Regions from separate parts of the Homo sapiens genome. Here region 2 is linked to region 1. Evidence: promoter capture Hi-C in 16 types of primary human blood cells and fetal thymus (Javierre and others, 2016). All regions are on one chromosome and are shown on one strand. The core of a region is centred on a gene start or on the middle of the fragment in contact, and the rest is flanking DNA. Distances in the headings are between cores, read along the strand shown.

Region 1 (7,785 bases), core at 3,630-6,129:
CACTTCATGTAACTTGTGTATGTGAGTGTTCTGGCTCACCAGACTCGGGCAGGTAGTAGAAGTACAGCCCAAGATGCAGTGAACTGAATTGGTAACCAGTGCACAGTAAACACACTTTGAAGAACCCAGCAGGTTGCTGAATATTTGAATCGGATGTTAGGTAGAAAAGTCTGACCCAGAAATACAGAATTTAGGCTGAGCGTGGTGGCTCACACCTGTAATCCCAGCACTTTGGGAGGCCGAGGTGGGCAGATCACCTGAGGTCAGGAGTTCGACACCGGCCTGGCCAACATGGCGAAACCCCTACTAAAAACACAAAAATTAGCCAGGTGTGGTGGCCTGCGCCTGTAATCCCAGCCACTCACGAGACTGAGGCAGGAGAATCGCTTGAACCCAGGGGCAGAGGTTGCAGTGAGCCAAGATCGTGCCACTGCACTCCAGCTTGGGCAACAGAGAGAGACTCCATCTCAAAATAATAATAATAAAATAAAATAAATAAAAGAATTTAGACTCAGGCTACAGATGATGATAATATGTCAGAAAAATTATGAAAGATTTTGAAATAGTCAAAAGAGGTTACTGGGTGAACTTTCTGTGGAGTGCTGTGCATTTTTAAAAGACTCTCTGGGGGCCGGGAGTGGTGGCTCATGCCTGTAATCCCAGCACTTTGGGAGGCCGAGGCGGGCAGATCATGAGGTCAAGAGATCGAGACCATTCTGGGCAACATGGTGAAACCCTGTCTCTACTAAAATTACAAAAATTAGCTAGGCATGGTCGTGTGCACCTATAGTCCCAGCTACTCGGGAGGCTGAGGCAGGAGAATCGCTTGAAGCCGGGATGTGGAGGTTGCAGTGAACTGAGATCGCGCCACTGCACTCCAGCCTGGCGACAGAGCGAGACTTCGTTTCAAAAACAAAAAATCCCCTGGGTCATTTGCCGTAGGAGGGATGTACCTCTGCCTTTGAGTATGCTATTTTACAACTCTGTAGAGATAGAAATTAACTTATAGAAGATAGTAATGCAAATGTTCCCTGCCCACAACAATGAAAACTATTCCTGTCCACAGCAATGCAAATCAATTTTGTGTGATAGAGAATATGTCACTATAAATCAAATTCTCCTTAGAACCAGTCTGAACATCCCTCCTGGTCGTAGGGATTAATTAAAATCAATGAATGAGTTAAGTAAGATCTTTGGCACATGTTCATTTTATATTTGCATGAAGGCCATAATTTTACCTTTTGAAACACTTTAACAGTTTTGAAGCTTTCACCAACATCCCAATGGATTCACCTGACAGAACCAGGTAAACCACATTACTGAAGAACACCCCATGGGGCTAAGCCCAAGCACATTTTTTCCTGGCTCCGGGAGTGAATACCAAGTAGCAATAGTACTACAGCGTTGCTGACTTTCTCCCTAGGTTTCTTTCTCCTCCTTACTGATTTTGGGTTTTGTTTCTGATTCGCCCACAGCTGGCGGATTTTTCCCCATGAATGGCGACACCAATTAGGAACTCGCGGGAAACCCCGTTGCTCCCTTTCCCCTGGCTGGCAGCGCGGAAGCCGCACGATGCCTGGAGTTCCTGTAAACCACGTGAACCAGCGGGACTTCGTCAGAGCTCTGGCAGCCTTTCTCAAAAAGTCCGGGAAGCTGAAAGTCCCCGAATGGGTGGACACCGTCAAGCTGGCCAAGCACAAAGAGCTTCCTCCCTACGTTGAGAACTGGTTCTACACACGAGCCGGTTCCACAGCGCGGCACCTGTACCTCCAGGGTGGCGCTGGGGTTGGCTCCATGACCAAGATCTATGGGGACGTCAGAGAAACGGCGTCATGCCCAGCCACTTCGGCCGAGGCTTCAAGAGTGTCCTCCGCCGGGTCCTCCAAGCCCTGGAGGGGCTGAAAATGGTGGAAAAGGACCAAGATGGGGGCCGCAAACTGACACCTCAGGGACAGAGAGATCTGGGCAGAATTGCCGGACAGGTGGCAGCTGCCAACAAGAAGCATTGGAACAAACCATGCTGGGTTAATACATTGCCTCATTCAGAAAAAAAAAAAAAAATTAGGAACTAGGTTTTACATTCTGAACATTTGGTGATCTCTTTAAGTGAATTAATAGTTTTTAGAGATCTATTCTCTTTTGGATAAGAGATGATGAAAAATCTGGTTTGTTAGTCTTTTTGTTTGTTTGCCTTTTTGTCTACTTATGAGTTCAAATCAGTTAAGACTTCCATGCCCATTGGGAAGGAGAACAGCTTTTTGTTATCTAGTCCACTGAATTTTTATGTTTCTGAATTTACTTTCGACCTGTGGCCAAAGTTGCAGAACCAAAGCTATATGCTATGTGTCTATGTGTCTTCCCGGCTGTAATCAACAAAGGCCTTCCCCTCTTGTTGTGGGAGTAAAAAAATCTTACTACCTTTGTAAAGTTTTAATAAGTTATATTATTTCATGTCTTAAAGGAGCTCTGTTATAATTCACTTATGGAAACAAACACATGTAAATCAATTATTTCTAAAATTCCAGAAAATAAGTAAATTAAACTTATGCATGCAAAATTTCTTAAAAATGCTGAAACCATCCTGACAGGGTTAACAAGATTACAAGCCAGCCTTTAGGCAGGTTAGTTAGGCACTGACCAGGGTGCATTGGTGCCCTTCAATTCACTTCCCTGCAGCTGCTAACTAACCAAAAGCCTTGCAGCACACTGATCACCTACTCCCTGATTGCTCCTATCCACAGAATCTCTGACACTAGCTCTTTGTACCCAGGAATTGCTTAAGGTATTTTTCAGATCCTGAATTCCCACAAAACAGCTGATGCCAAACTGTCTAGGGATCCCCACCAGGAAGGGCACAGTGGCTCACGCCTGTAATCTTAGCACTTTGGGAGGCCAAGGTGAGAGGATCGCCTGAAGCCCGGAGTTTGAGACTAGCCTGGGCAACAAAGTGAGACCCTGCTTTACAAAAAAAAAATTTTTTTAAATAAATAAATAAAGACCTCCACCAAGAAACAACACTGGAATGAAGTTTCTTCATCTCCCTGTCCCATGACTTCACCTCTCACTTCCTGACCAATCAGAAATCCCCACACTTTAGCCCATTGCCCCTCCAGACTTCTTAAAAATGCCATCTCTAATCTCTTGGGGAGGTGGATTTGAGGATTGCTCTTGTCTCCTCATTTGGCTGCCACTTGATTATGGAACTCTTTATCTGCTGCAACTCCTATTCTTTCTGTTACCGCACAATGGACAATCGAACCTGATGGTCCTATAACAATCTTTCTTACAGAAATTGCTAGTACAGAAAGAATCCAGGTTCAAATAATCAAGGCAAATCTTTGGCGAATAATATTAAGTTTTGGTTAAAAAAAATCCCAGCTATGTCTTTTCTCAGTGTTAAGTATTATACATGTGTACATTTTGAGTTTGTTTCCTTACCGAGAATAATTAATCTGAACTTCCTAAATTTATAAAAGTTTACTATTGATAAGCTAATATTAACATTACATTGTTTAAGATCCTGAAAAATGTGAATTTGTTCAACAAAACTGAATCATTCTCACATTTAACAGTAATTGTTTCTTTGTGCCTTAAACTATTAATAATTTCTATGATCTGTAGATAACTTAAAACTTAGTATTAAATTGAGCTAATTAATGGATACTTCTTGGATGCCTAGATATGTTCTTGCATAATTTTATGTTTACATCGTTTTGCTTATTTTTATATGCTACAGAGACTACAACTCTGAGTCACAGTAATGATGTGTTCATGTTTGCCACTTGTCAGCGTGTGTAAAAATGGTTGTGGTGGCTTTATACAGTTGTGTTCTATCGCGCCTTTTGCAGCAACATGGATGCATCTGGAGGCCATGATCCTAAAAGAATTAACGCAGAAGCAGAAAACCAAATACATGTTCTCACTTGAAAGTGGGAGCTAAGCATTGGGCACACATGGACACAAAGGTGACATTAATAGACGCTGGGGACTACTAGAGTGGGGAGGGAGGCAGGGAGGGGCTGAAAAACTTGGGTACTATGCTCAGTATCTGGGTGACCAGCTCATTCGAATTCGAAACCTCATAGCCAGGTAACAAATACGCAGTGTACCCCCTAAATCTAAACGTTGGAATTATTTTTTAAAAGAAAGTTATGTTCCATGTATTTCTAAGCTTACTCTCCTAAAATGGTTGAATATTACAGTTCTCAATTATTTATCTCCATGTAGAAGGATGACAGGGACTGTGCGCTAGTGCCAGCCTCCGCTGAGAGCGCCAAGACATTACAGCAAGCGACGGTAGGAGAGCTTGTAACGTGAAGCACCACCACACCTCTGTACTTCAAACTTAACCACAGAGACCGACTCCCAAACCAGCAAGTGCGTAAGCGCCGCCGCGCTCACCACCCGCCCCGCCCCTTCCGCATGCTAATGCCTTCTTCCGGCAGCCTTAGTTTCTTCCAACCAGTGCAGCTCCCTGTTCCGCGAGCATACGTCATCGTTCTCGCTTTCCGGTAGCTAAGGCGATCAGCGGGACTTCCCACTGAGACGAGCGGATGTCATATTGTATCAGGGCGAACCTCTGAGGAGCGCTGGCTGCGCTTAGGCAACGGTGCGGCAGGCGCCGGGGTTTTCTGAAACAGAAACGTTTAGGGGTGGGGAAACGTGTTCCGAGGAACTCTCGTTTTGAAGTGCGACATACACCTGTCTTGCCCTGTTCCAAGATGGTGGCAGAGCTTCTCTGAGTCTCTCGCTTCCTCCAGTCCGTCGGAGAAGCGCTCTTTGATTGGCCAGTGGACAGCGCCGTGGCATGACGCGCTGGGGCGCTGGCCAATCGGTTGAGAGCTGAGCTGGACTTGGCGGTGGGAGCCGGAGCCTGCTTGTTGCAGCTGTGGGTGAGGACGGCTCTAGCTAGGTGAGCGGCTCCGGCCAGGTGAGCGGGGCGCATAGGTGACGGAGGGCCGAGGGCACGGGTATGAGTTTCTGCCGGGGGCGAGGTGAGCGGCTTCTGGGAGGAGGCCTTTTCTTGACAGTTTAGGGTAGCGGGGGAATGGATGATCCGGGAGTCCCCTGCGGATGTCGTCCCGCACCAGGCCGGGACCGATTTCTGGCTCCAGTTTCCCCAGAATTGCGGAGTGCGCACACCTGGAAGGACCCAAGTCCCGTTTTATAGTTGAGAAACTCAAGACTCAGACAAGTGAAACGACTTTTGCTTCATGACAGCTGGAACTGGAACCCAGGTCCTTGGACTCCCTTCAAGGATTAAACCTCACTTATTCTTACATACACATGGTCACTGTGTCCTGAGAAGTTACGAGTTGGCGCGATAAGGGTGGTTCAGATTTTTTGGCATATTCTCCTGTTATCTTTCCAGGCCTTTCATTCATTCACTAATTCATACTTTCAGTTATTTACCTCTTCAGATACCTTCCCCGATACTTTGGTAAAAGCTATGGACCCATCTCCCTAGAAAAACGGCATATTCCCTCATGCGCATAACTTCAGATGATTAGTGGACCTTCTATAGTCCCCTTGGATTATGTGTCCACTGCTAAGAATCCAGACCCTAGAAGGGTGAGGGAAACAGGCAGTAGGAAAAGGAGGGAGCAGGTCTTAGGCTGTACATGCTTGGAAACCATTAGATGGAGGCAGTAGCTTCTTTTTTTTTTTTTTTTTTTTTGAGATGGAGTCTCGCTCTGTCGCCCAGGCTGGAGTGCAGTGGCGTGATCTCGGCTCACTGCAACCAATGCCTCCCAAGGTCAAGCAGTCCTCCCTGCCGCAGCCTCCCGAGTAGCTGGGATTACAGGCACCTGCCACCACGCCCAGCTAATTTTTGTATTTTTAGTAGAGACGGGGTTTTGCCATGTTGGCCAGGCTGGTCTTGAATTCCTGACCTCAGGTCATCCACCGGCCTCGGTCGCCCAAAGTGCTGGGATTACAGGCGTGAGCCACCGCGCCCGGCCGCCAGTGCCTTTTAATAAAGAACGTTTTGAGAGAGAGACGGTTATTTAATGAAATCTGCTGACATACTTGCTGAGAGTTGTGATAGAACTTGCTTTCATTCCGACTTTAGTTATCCCTTTGCTTCCCATGAAGCTCCAGAGTGCTTCCTGTGCACACAGTGCTTCAGGTTCTTGCCGTTGCCAGAAATAAACAGATTTCTTAGAGTTTCAGTTGGAGCAAACATTGGAATTCTTGTGTTCTGGGCTTTATGTAGTAGAGTAATTCATTTGCTTTTCTAGCCATGCAATATTATTGCCTTAATCAAAATTATTTACAGTATGGTACTTCCCAAAATAACAGACAGTTGTTATCCATATTCAGGAAGTGGGCGCGAGAGGCCACTTTAATTTGATAGACTCTTTAATTTGCCTTTTTACTACTTTTCTTGAGGGGCTTGTTCCCTTGAACCCCAATAGCTGAGTTGTGTGTTACCCTAGATTTTAGGATATGAACAGGATGTATAAATACTCAATGAAGTTGGGATCATCTGGGTTTGAGAGTTTAGCCTGTAGGACAGTTTTACTGACCACAGTCTTCATTTTTTTTTTGAAACAGAGTCTGGCTCTGTCGCCCAGGCTGTGCAATGGCATTGTCTCGCCTCACTGCAATCTCTGCCTCCCGAGTTCAGACGATTCTCCTGCCTCAACCTCCTGAGTAGCTGGGACTATGGGCACGTGCCACCACACCTGGCTAATTTTTGTATTTTTAGTAGAGACGGAGTTTCACTGTGTTGGCCAGGCTGGTCTTGAACTCCTGACCTCGTGATCCGCCCATCTCAGCCTCCCAAAGTGCTGCGAGTATAGGTGTGAGCCACCACACCTGGCCTTGACCACAGCCTGTCAAGGCATGAACATAAGCAACCGTGGTGAGGAAAGAGGTTCTGGTGAGACTCAGCATAATAGTAATTTTGGTAATACCAAGTAGAAATAATTTAGCTCAAAACTGGTTCCCATTATGAACCAAACTTGAAGATCAGTATCCAGCTCTTTTCTCCAAAGTTAACAAAGTGCGGAAGGGAATGAGCACCCCCCCGCTACTGAAAAAAAAATCACTTGGAATGTAAAATTTAATAGAGGAAGAAAGGAAGGAGATTAGAGAGGAAGATAGTTGGATGCCGAAACAGGGTTCAAGACTTACCCTTGAGCAAGGGGCTGAAATTGGCTTGACTGATAGGACGTGTGATCTGTGAGGAGGTTTGAAGTAGTAGTGTTTAACTACATGTAGTTTGGAGATGATCAGGTGATTGTAAACCTCCCACTCCTTTGATTTATTTTTAAGTGCTTGAAAGGAGAGGTGAGAAAGGAGCAGTGATCAATGATAACTGTGCGGTTAACTGACTTTTGGGTATCAGATGGAAAAGAAATACTGTCATTCTACAGCAACAGGTTCTTCCCAAGTATTTAAGAAACACTGTGTTAGTTGGGCCGGGTACAGTGGGTCACGCCTGTAATCCCAGCACTTTGGAAGGCCAAGGCGGGTGGATCACCTGAGGTCAGGAGTTTGAGACCAGCCTGGCCAACATGGTGAAACCCTGCCTCTACTAAAAATACAAAAAATTAGCCGGGCTTGGTGGCACAGGCTTGTAATCCCAGCTACTTGGGAGGCTGTGGCAGGAGAATCGCTTGAACCCGGGAGGTGGAGGCTGCAGTGAGCTGAGATGGGAAAAAAAGAGAAACACTGTGTTACATGACCCATCTTCTTTTTTTGACATTTAGTTCAGAATTTCACATACCATTAAGGTAATTAAAGTTTTATCTTCAGTTCCCTTTTAGACTATGGCGACAT
Region 2 (7,785 bases), core at 2,748-5,247, 2.6 Mb after region 1:
GCCTGGTCAACATGGCAAAACCCTGTCTCTACTAAAAATACAAAAATTAGCCAGGTGTGGTAGTGTGTGCCTGTAATCCCAGTTGTTAGAGGGTGCTGAGGCAGGAGAATTGCTTGAACCCAGGAGGCAGAGGTTGCAGTGAGCTGAGATTGCACAACTGCACTCCAGCCTTGGCAACAGAGTGAGACTCCATCTCAAAATAAATAAATAAATAAAAATTAAATTAAAAATTCAATTTCTCAGTTGCACTAGCCATATTCAATTGCCCAATAGCCATGGCTAATGGCTACCAGATTGGATATGTCTGCATAATGACTGCAAAATGAAATCTTGTCCTACTTTCATATCTATCATGGATTGAAATGTGTCCCCTGCACAATACATATGTTGACGTTCTAACTCTCAGTACCTCAAAATGCAGTCTTCTTTGGAAACAGGGTCAATGCAGATGTAATTAGTTAAGATGAGATCATACTGGGGAAGGGTGGGCGTCTAATCCAATATGATTGGTGCCTTCATAAAAAGGCAGAATTTGGAGACACATACACAGGTAGAACACCATGTGAACATGAAAGCAGAGGTCAAGATGATGTGTCTAGAAGCCAAGGAACACCAAAGATAGCCTGCAAACCACCAGCAGCCAGGAGAGAGGCATGCGGCAGATTCTTCCCCACAGCCCTCAGAAAGAACGAGCCATGCAGATATCTTGATCTTCAATTTCTAGCCTCCAGACCTGAAACACAATAAATCATGTTGTTTAAGACACCTAGTTTGTGGAGCTTTCTTACAGCAGCCCTAGCAAATTAATATAATATCCAAGCAGTTATTGACTAAATATACATGATTTAATTAAAAGCAGCATAGTGTGTACATTTTAAAATATAAAATGCTACTGCAGGCCAGACACAGTGGCTCACGCCTGTAATTCCAGCACTTTGGGAGGCCAAGGCAGGTGGATCACCTGAGGTTGGGAGTTCGAGACCAGCCTGACCAACATGGAGAAACCCTGTCTCTACTAAAAATACAAAATTAGCCAGGCGTGGTGGCATATGCCTGTAATCCCAGCTACTCAGGAGGCTGAGGCAGTAGAATCGCTTGAACCAGGGAGGCAGTGGTTGCGGTGAGCTGAGATCATGCTATTGCACTCCAGCCTGGGCAACAAGAGTGAAATTCCGTCTCAAAAAAAAAAAAAATTTCTGCTGCATTGAGAGGCCGAGATGAATCAGAACAGGACTTGTTGGGTTTCCCACTCAATTAGTGTTAGATCATGTCCCCTTTGTCCAATCACGCTTCTACACGACTGTCGATCATGCCTATCCAATAAAGTCCCCATAAAAGACCCAAGGGGACAGGGTTCAGGAAGCTTCTGAGCTGGCTGAACATGTGGAGGAGGTTCCTGGAGGGTGGTGTGCCCGTGGAGGGCATGGAACCTCTACACCCCTTCCCCCAGACCTCACCTTATGAATCTTTTCATCTGTATCTTTTGTGATATTCTTATAATAAACTGGTAAATGTAATGTATATATACATATATATGGAAATATGTTGAAATTAGAATTTCCCAATATTAGAATATATGTACAATTCTAATTTCAATATATTTTCCAGAATCAATTTTGTTTTTGAGCTACAAAAACAACAATTTCATTTGGTTCACCCAAAGATTCATGTGACTTCTGGGCCGAGACACTGGCTTCCCTTGCTGTTTGCTTAATGGGACCACTAGGGATCCATATTTTGAACTAGACTCGTTAATATTACATAGATTTCCAGCTAGGTGACTTTGGCCAAGCCCCTTATCTGCCCTGAACCCTTTTTCCCCTGTAAAACAAGGGGGTGGGGCTAGACTCCCTCTAAGTTCTAGCTAAGACATTCTAGGACTTAGAGGAAGCCTTGATCTAGGCAGACTTGATGACCCTTGGTCCAGTGAGCTAAAAGCAGGGCTGCTTACAGAAATCAGCTCAGCTAAATAAAGAGTTTGAAGAAAAATATTAAAATAGAGGGCTCTGGCAAATTAAATATTCAAAGTGAAGAACTCAGAATTTATTGAAAGCCTGTCACCATTTAAAATGCATAATTTTAGCATAAATACTCTAGAAATATTCCTTTTGTTTGCTATGTGTTATTGTTAATAAAGGAGATCCTACATCTAGATTTGTCATACGTCATTAATGAATCAACCATAGGATGTAAATTATAATTATTTTGAATTATCTATTTACTGTTTAATTACATTTAATTTTAGATTCTCCTAAAATGGCCTAATAAAAATTTTGGGTGCTAAATGACTGCCTCATCTGCTTACTCTGTGCTACTTGCTAAAATTAGTTATATTAATTGTTTGGGGATTCTTTTTCTTAAAAAAAAAAACTAACCCTGGGGGCATGGTCCTAAATAAAATATCCTAAAAATTTAATGCTTTTCTTTTCTTTGCCAGGGTTGTAGTAAAATGTTAGTTACACTAAACTCATTAAAATAAACCTTTGCACATTACCACTGAATCAATTGGATATAATCTGAATAAAAACTAAATAAAAGTCACATCAGTGCTACCCTTGGACCAGGGCAAGAAGGCCTCTGCCCTGGCTTCTGTGTATTAGAGGTTCTGTTCTAGCCCTTCTCTGCCCATGCTGCTCCACGCAAGGCAAGGAGGTCCCAGGGCCAGATGACAGGCCCACCTGGGGTGCTCACACACATACACACACATGCTCTTCTAGAACACGTTCTAAGTACCCAACACCCTTACCTTCCCTGCTCAAAGGGGCCCAAGCTGCTTTCTAAGGCTTTAAAAGGCCTCTTGGCTGGGTCTTTCCTGCAAGGGTGACCATCACTGGCATGCTCACTGCCCGGCCAAGAGGAGGCTGAGGTGGGGATGTAGGCAGAGTTGGGACTTGCTGGCTGGAGAAGAGGAGGAGAAGAGGCAGGGCACACACATCCCTGCTAGTGTATGAGACCCCCTCACAAAGCAAGACTGAGCCTGGGGTGGGAAATGGAGTTGGGGGGAGCTGGAGAAGCAGGCAAACTAAATTCCACCCTGGTTGTCCAGGTTCTTAAGAAGGCATATTGGTCAAAGTGGAGAGGAGAACACGTATTTTACCTAAGTTTGTTATCTTGAATTATAATTCAATATTTAGGCGGATGGTATGAGGGCCTCCATTCACACTCTTGCCCTGGAACTGGCAAATGTGAATGGAAGGCTGAGTAAAATCATAGTTTTGTGTTGTTGGCCTTTGAGTGTTCCATCTCTCTTACAATTTTAGTTTGTCACACCTTGCACCTTGTATGTGTAAGTAAAATTAATGGCATAGGAAAGAAACCAAAAGAAGTGAACAATAAGAGACTAAAGAAACTCTACAGGCCGGGCATGGTGGCTCATGCAAGTAATCCTAACACTTTGGGAGGCCAAGGTGGGTGGATCACCTGAGGTTGGGAGTTCAAGACCAGCCTGGCCAACATGGTGAAACCCCGTCTCTCCTTAAAATATAAAAAATACCAAAAAAAACAAAAATTATCTGGGTGTGGTAGCGCACACCTGTAATCCCAGTTATTCAGGAGGCTGAGGCACGAGAATCTTTTGAACCCGGGAGGCAGAGCTTGCAGTGAGCCGAGATCACGCCACTGCACTCCAGCCTGGGCAACAGAGTGAGACTCTGTCTCAAAAAAAAAAAAAAAAAAAAGGAAAGGAAGGCAGAGAAGCAGGCTAAGGCTTAATTTTTCTGCCCAGTGGGTTTTGAAATATGGTTGGCTTCCTTCAGGAAGCTTTTTCCCGACGTTGGTGATGATAATAAAACCTGATGCTTTCTATGTGCTGGGCCCACTTATAAACACTAACACATATTAACAATCGAATCCTAAACTAATCCTGTGTTAACAGCCTCCCACTTTACATATGAGGAAACCTGGGGTGACTTGCACACGGCTTGGCAGCTGGGACGTGGATAGGGAATGTACACCCAGGCAGTCTGGCTCCCGGGCTCCTGCTAGAGGATCCTACAGGACATTAGGAGCATTGTCCCTTAGAGCTGTCTGCACAAACGTCTGCTTCCCAAGCAACTAGTTATCAACTTTTCCCTCTCGCCAACGATACTGGCACCTGGAACAATCCTTAGATTCAGCACGGATTTTCGAGTAAGGGGTTGGTCCACTGTCGGGGCTGAGCACGGCTGTTTAGCATTTGAGGGTTTGTCTTTTTTTACTTGGTGTTTTGTGTCGCTTTTGAGTGCTGATATAATAGAACAAGCTTAGTACAGTGCCTGGCACTCAACAAATCCTGGCAAGAAAGGAGATCGAGGAAAAGAAGCAAGCGAGAGACGAAAGAAAGGGAGGGAATGCGCCTTGTAACATTAACGTAGCTTGTGCGAATCCTGGAAGGTGAGGGGAAAGGAGACACCGCGTCAAGGGAGAGAGGAGAGGGCACCGAGCGCCCGCCCCTCCGACGTGGTCCGCCCCGGCCTCACGACGCCCCGCCTCTGCCACGCCTCTTCCCCGCCCCATGCAGGTCTTCGTCCCGCCCCCCACAAAGCCGGCTTCCGCCCCGTCCCTCAGCGGCGCCCCGCCCCCACGGCGTCTTGCCCCGCCTCCTGCAGGCGGCCCGGCGCGGTGTTTACCCGCGGTGCATGGTGGGGCGGTCTCCTTCGGCAACCCCGGCCGAACGGCCACCCAGAGGCTGTGCTGAGCTGGCGCAGCGGCAGCAGCATGAGCCGGACCCTCGCATCGGCCGTGCCCCTGTCGAGTCCCGACTACTACGAGAGGCTGGGCCAACTCCAGCACGGGCTGCGGGACAGGTAAGGGCACTGGGGCGGGGGTGGGGAGTCGGCCCGCGCCGGGGGTCTTCCGCGTGCCCTGCCCCATTTTCCTTCCCGCTCCCCCGTCCGAGGTTCCCCGGGGCCCAGGCCCGCGCGCAACGCCCCCCAGGCTCCCAGTGGGGCCTGGAGGACAGTGTTTACTAGAGCCACCCCCTGTATTGGGGGTGGGAGCGGAGAGAGGTGAGAGACCGCCCCCGCCCCGTCAATAGCAGCTAAAGCCTGGTCTACGGTTTGAGGATGCGGCCGCGTCACAGAATTTGCCCAGAAGTGAAGGTGGGAGTTCTTCTGCCTGTCACTCTCCATCAAGCCTTGTGAGTTTCTCTTGTCCCCTTTTACACGCCCCCTCCCCACTCTCTTCAAATTGCCATCCCGCCGTGACAGCTGCACTGCATCAATGATGACAAGTCCTGGAACGCAGACGGTTGTGTGTGTGTGTGTCAAACATGTGCCCCCGTTTAAACTCAGGAGACTTTTAGGGGTAGCGAGGGCTGGCTAGATTTCCAGCGAAGGGATGAAATTTCCAGCTAGAGAAGTCCAGCTTCCAGAGGGTTCATGATGCCTTTGATTAAGATATGAAAGATGGGAACCACTGAAAACAGCTAGATCTAAGAGTGCATATAGAGAGAAAATTATACCGCAATGTACTATGAATAACCACGTAAAAGATAAATTGCTGGACCTCTTATTTAGCTGCTAAGTTAATTGGAGTTGTAACTCTCATTAGTTGACAAGAAAGGAAATACATTTTTGGATCTCTTGATAAACAAAACATTTAATGAGTGTTAAAAGTTACAAAATCATTCTAGTGAACAGGAGAGCTGTGTGCGTGACAGTGCTAAAATGATAACAATAATTACATGGAAAATAAAGGCAGAAGTGAGCGATTTTGAAAAGGAATTACATTTATCTTACGCTAGATTTAATTCTTGTCAGATATTTATAGAGCATCTACAACAGGCTTCCTTAATTGTCGTTAGCATTTTTTTTACCTTGTACTCCTTTTCTACGTCCTATTTTCTTTCTGACATGTCACCGCTCACCCATATCAGTGACCTCTTAATTTCTGACTTTAAAAAGAAATCTCTTCCTGTAGAGCCTTCCCTGTTTCAACCCATTCCCTAACTTTTGTGACTCTTGGCATTCTTACAGCACTCATAAATGGCATTCTTTTTGAACTATTAATTGTAAGTTATTTTTGTTTCCTGTGCTAGGAACACCTGGCTGTTTATAGTCCTTATGGCACAATAACTGTATAATAATTATGTACTTTATGATTAACACTTATTTAATTATTAAACAAGGTGAGGCTGTTGAAAATATATAAGGAATGTGAATCAAATTTTATAGCCTGTTCACGGTTCTGCATTTCGAGATTTGTTTTATTTTTAAGTCAGTACAAATCTGTTGCTGTGTGTGTTCATTTTTCATTTTAAGAATTTATAACTAACTCAAATTAATGCACACTGGACACAGTTATAGAGGCAAATAATTCTAGATACAGAAAAGGCTGCAGTAGAAATATCAAAACCTGGATTCTAGTCCACGAACAATTGTGTGACCTTGAGCAGGTTGTTCCACCTCTCTGAACCTTGGTTCTTTACCAGGAATGAGGGGGCTTGACTAATATGCAAAGTAAGGCCACAGATTTTTTTCTTTCTCTCTTTGCTAGAATAATGGGCCTTAAAGTAAAAAAAGAAAAAAAAGCTGAAAGCTGTAGTTTTGCAAAGCAATGTGTAAAGAATATTATTGTCTGTATCCAATTTGAGTGTTTGGATGTACCTTTTTGTTTGTTTGTTTATTTGTTTGAAACATAGTCTCACTCTGTCACCCAGGCTGGAGTGCAATGGCATGATCTCAGCTCACTGCAACCCCCACCTCCCAGGTTCAAGCGATTGTCCTGCCTCAGCCTCCCTAGTAGCTGGGATTACAGGCGCCCACCACCAACCCCAGCTAATTTTTGTATTTTTAGTGGAGATGGGGTTTCACCATGTTGGCCAGGCTGATCTCGAACCCCTGACCTCAGGTGATCTGCCTGCCTCTGCCTTCCAAAGTGTTGGGATTACAGGTGTGAGCCACTGCACCCGGCCTTGGTTGTACCTTTTTAAACAAAGAAACACAAAGCATCCCACTGATCACAGATACCACTGTCTCCTAAAATTCCTGAGTCATTTCATAGGGAGCAACCCTGGGTAGTCACAGCTGCTTTATCAATCCAGAAACTTCTGGGAAGTGGGAGACAAAAAAAAACTCCCTCTTTCTCAGCCCTTTTAGAGGTGGTCATTGCAATGTTAGCTGGTCAAATAACCAGCATATTTCCAGCCCAAGTCATGTTAGCTGTAGTTACACGTAGATGTAATTTTATCGTCTGAATGTTTTCCTATGTGTGTACAGTGTTTTTTCTGCATTGTGGTGAAAGTCAATAATTGAATCTAAAAGAGTCTAATGGAGTGACTTGTTACAGTGTGTATAGCACCCACAAGCATGGTAGAAACTTATAAGTGGAATTGGCTCTTACGGTTATACAAAAACATCCTTTTAAAAGGGCCCATTAGCCAGCCGCGGTTTTTTCAGTGCCTATATTGATTCAGAGTAAGATATCATAATAGTCTAGAAACTGACACTGAGATATTAGTAGAGTAAGCTGAAGATGGTATAGAATTGTGGTATCGAGACAAAAACAGAATAACAAGTGGCTTAAAAGTAGAAAACTCAGCAAGATAAGGACCACTTAGCTGTGTAAAACTGAAAGGTCCAAGTGAGGGGTGACTGAAAACATGAACTATGGGTAAGCATCCCAGGGATGGGTATTTCAAAGATTCTGAATAGAGATTTAATATGTAAGAATTGCAAGCCATGGAAAGGCTTTTCATTGAGGCAAATATCTGGTTTTTAGTATTAAATTTTAAAAAGACATGGAGGGCTCAGCATTCTGAGGTGCTGCAGTGTGGATGAGGGGCTAGAAAATAGGCCTGTGAAGAAG

The links. The method cuts DNA at HindIII sites, captures the fragments that hold promoters and counts their contacts. A CHiCAGO score of 5 or more calls a contact.
Region 2: a contact is called between a fragment that was not itself captured here and the fragment with the promoter of SEC23B in region 1, in 1 of 17 cell types (fetal thymus). The highest score is 6.1, in fetal thymus.

What each region holds. Positions count from the first base shown.
Region 1 is chr20:18,503,061-18,510,845 of GRCh38, forward strand. SEC23B (SEC23 homolog B, COPII component) reads left to right here and starts at 4,880. Exons shown (of 20, transcript NM_006363.6): 1 at 4,880-4,912; 2 at 7,762-7,785. The coding sequence starts at 7,776. It also overlaps the pseudogene RPS19P1. RefSeq lists enhancers at 4,421-4,750, 5,101-5,150. The HindIII fragment of the contact is 4,172 bases long and covers 4,170-7,785 here.
Region 2 is chr20:21,121,421-21,129,205 of GRCh38, forward strand. It overlaps KIZ (kizuna centrosomal protein), which reads left to right and starts at 4,662. Exons shown (of 13, transcript NM_018474.6): 1 at 4,662-4,784. The coding sequence starts at 4,696. RefSeq lists enhancers at 4,131-4,230, 5,131-5,180 and a silencer at 4,391-4,970. The HindIII fragment of the contact is 481 bases long and covers 3,758-4,238 here.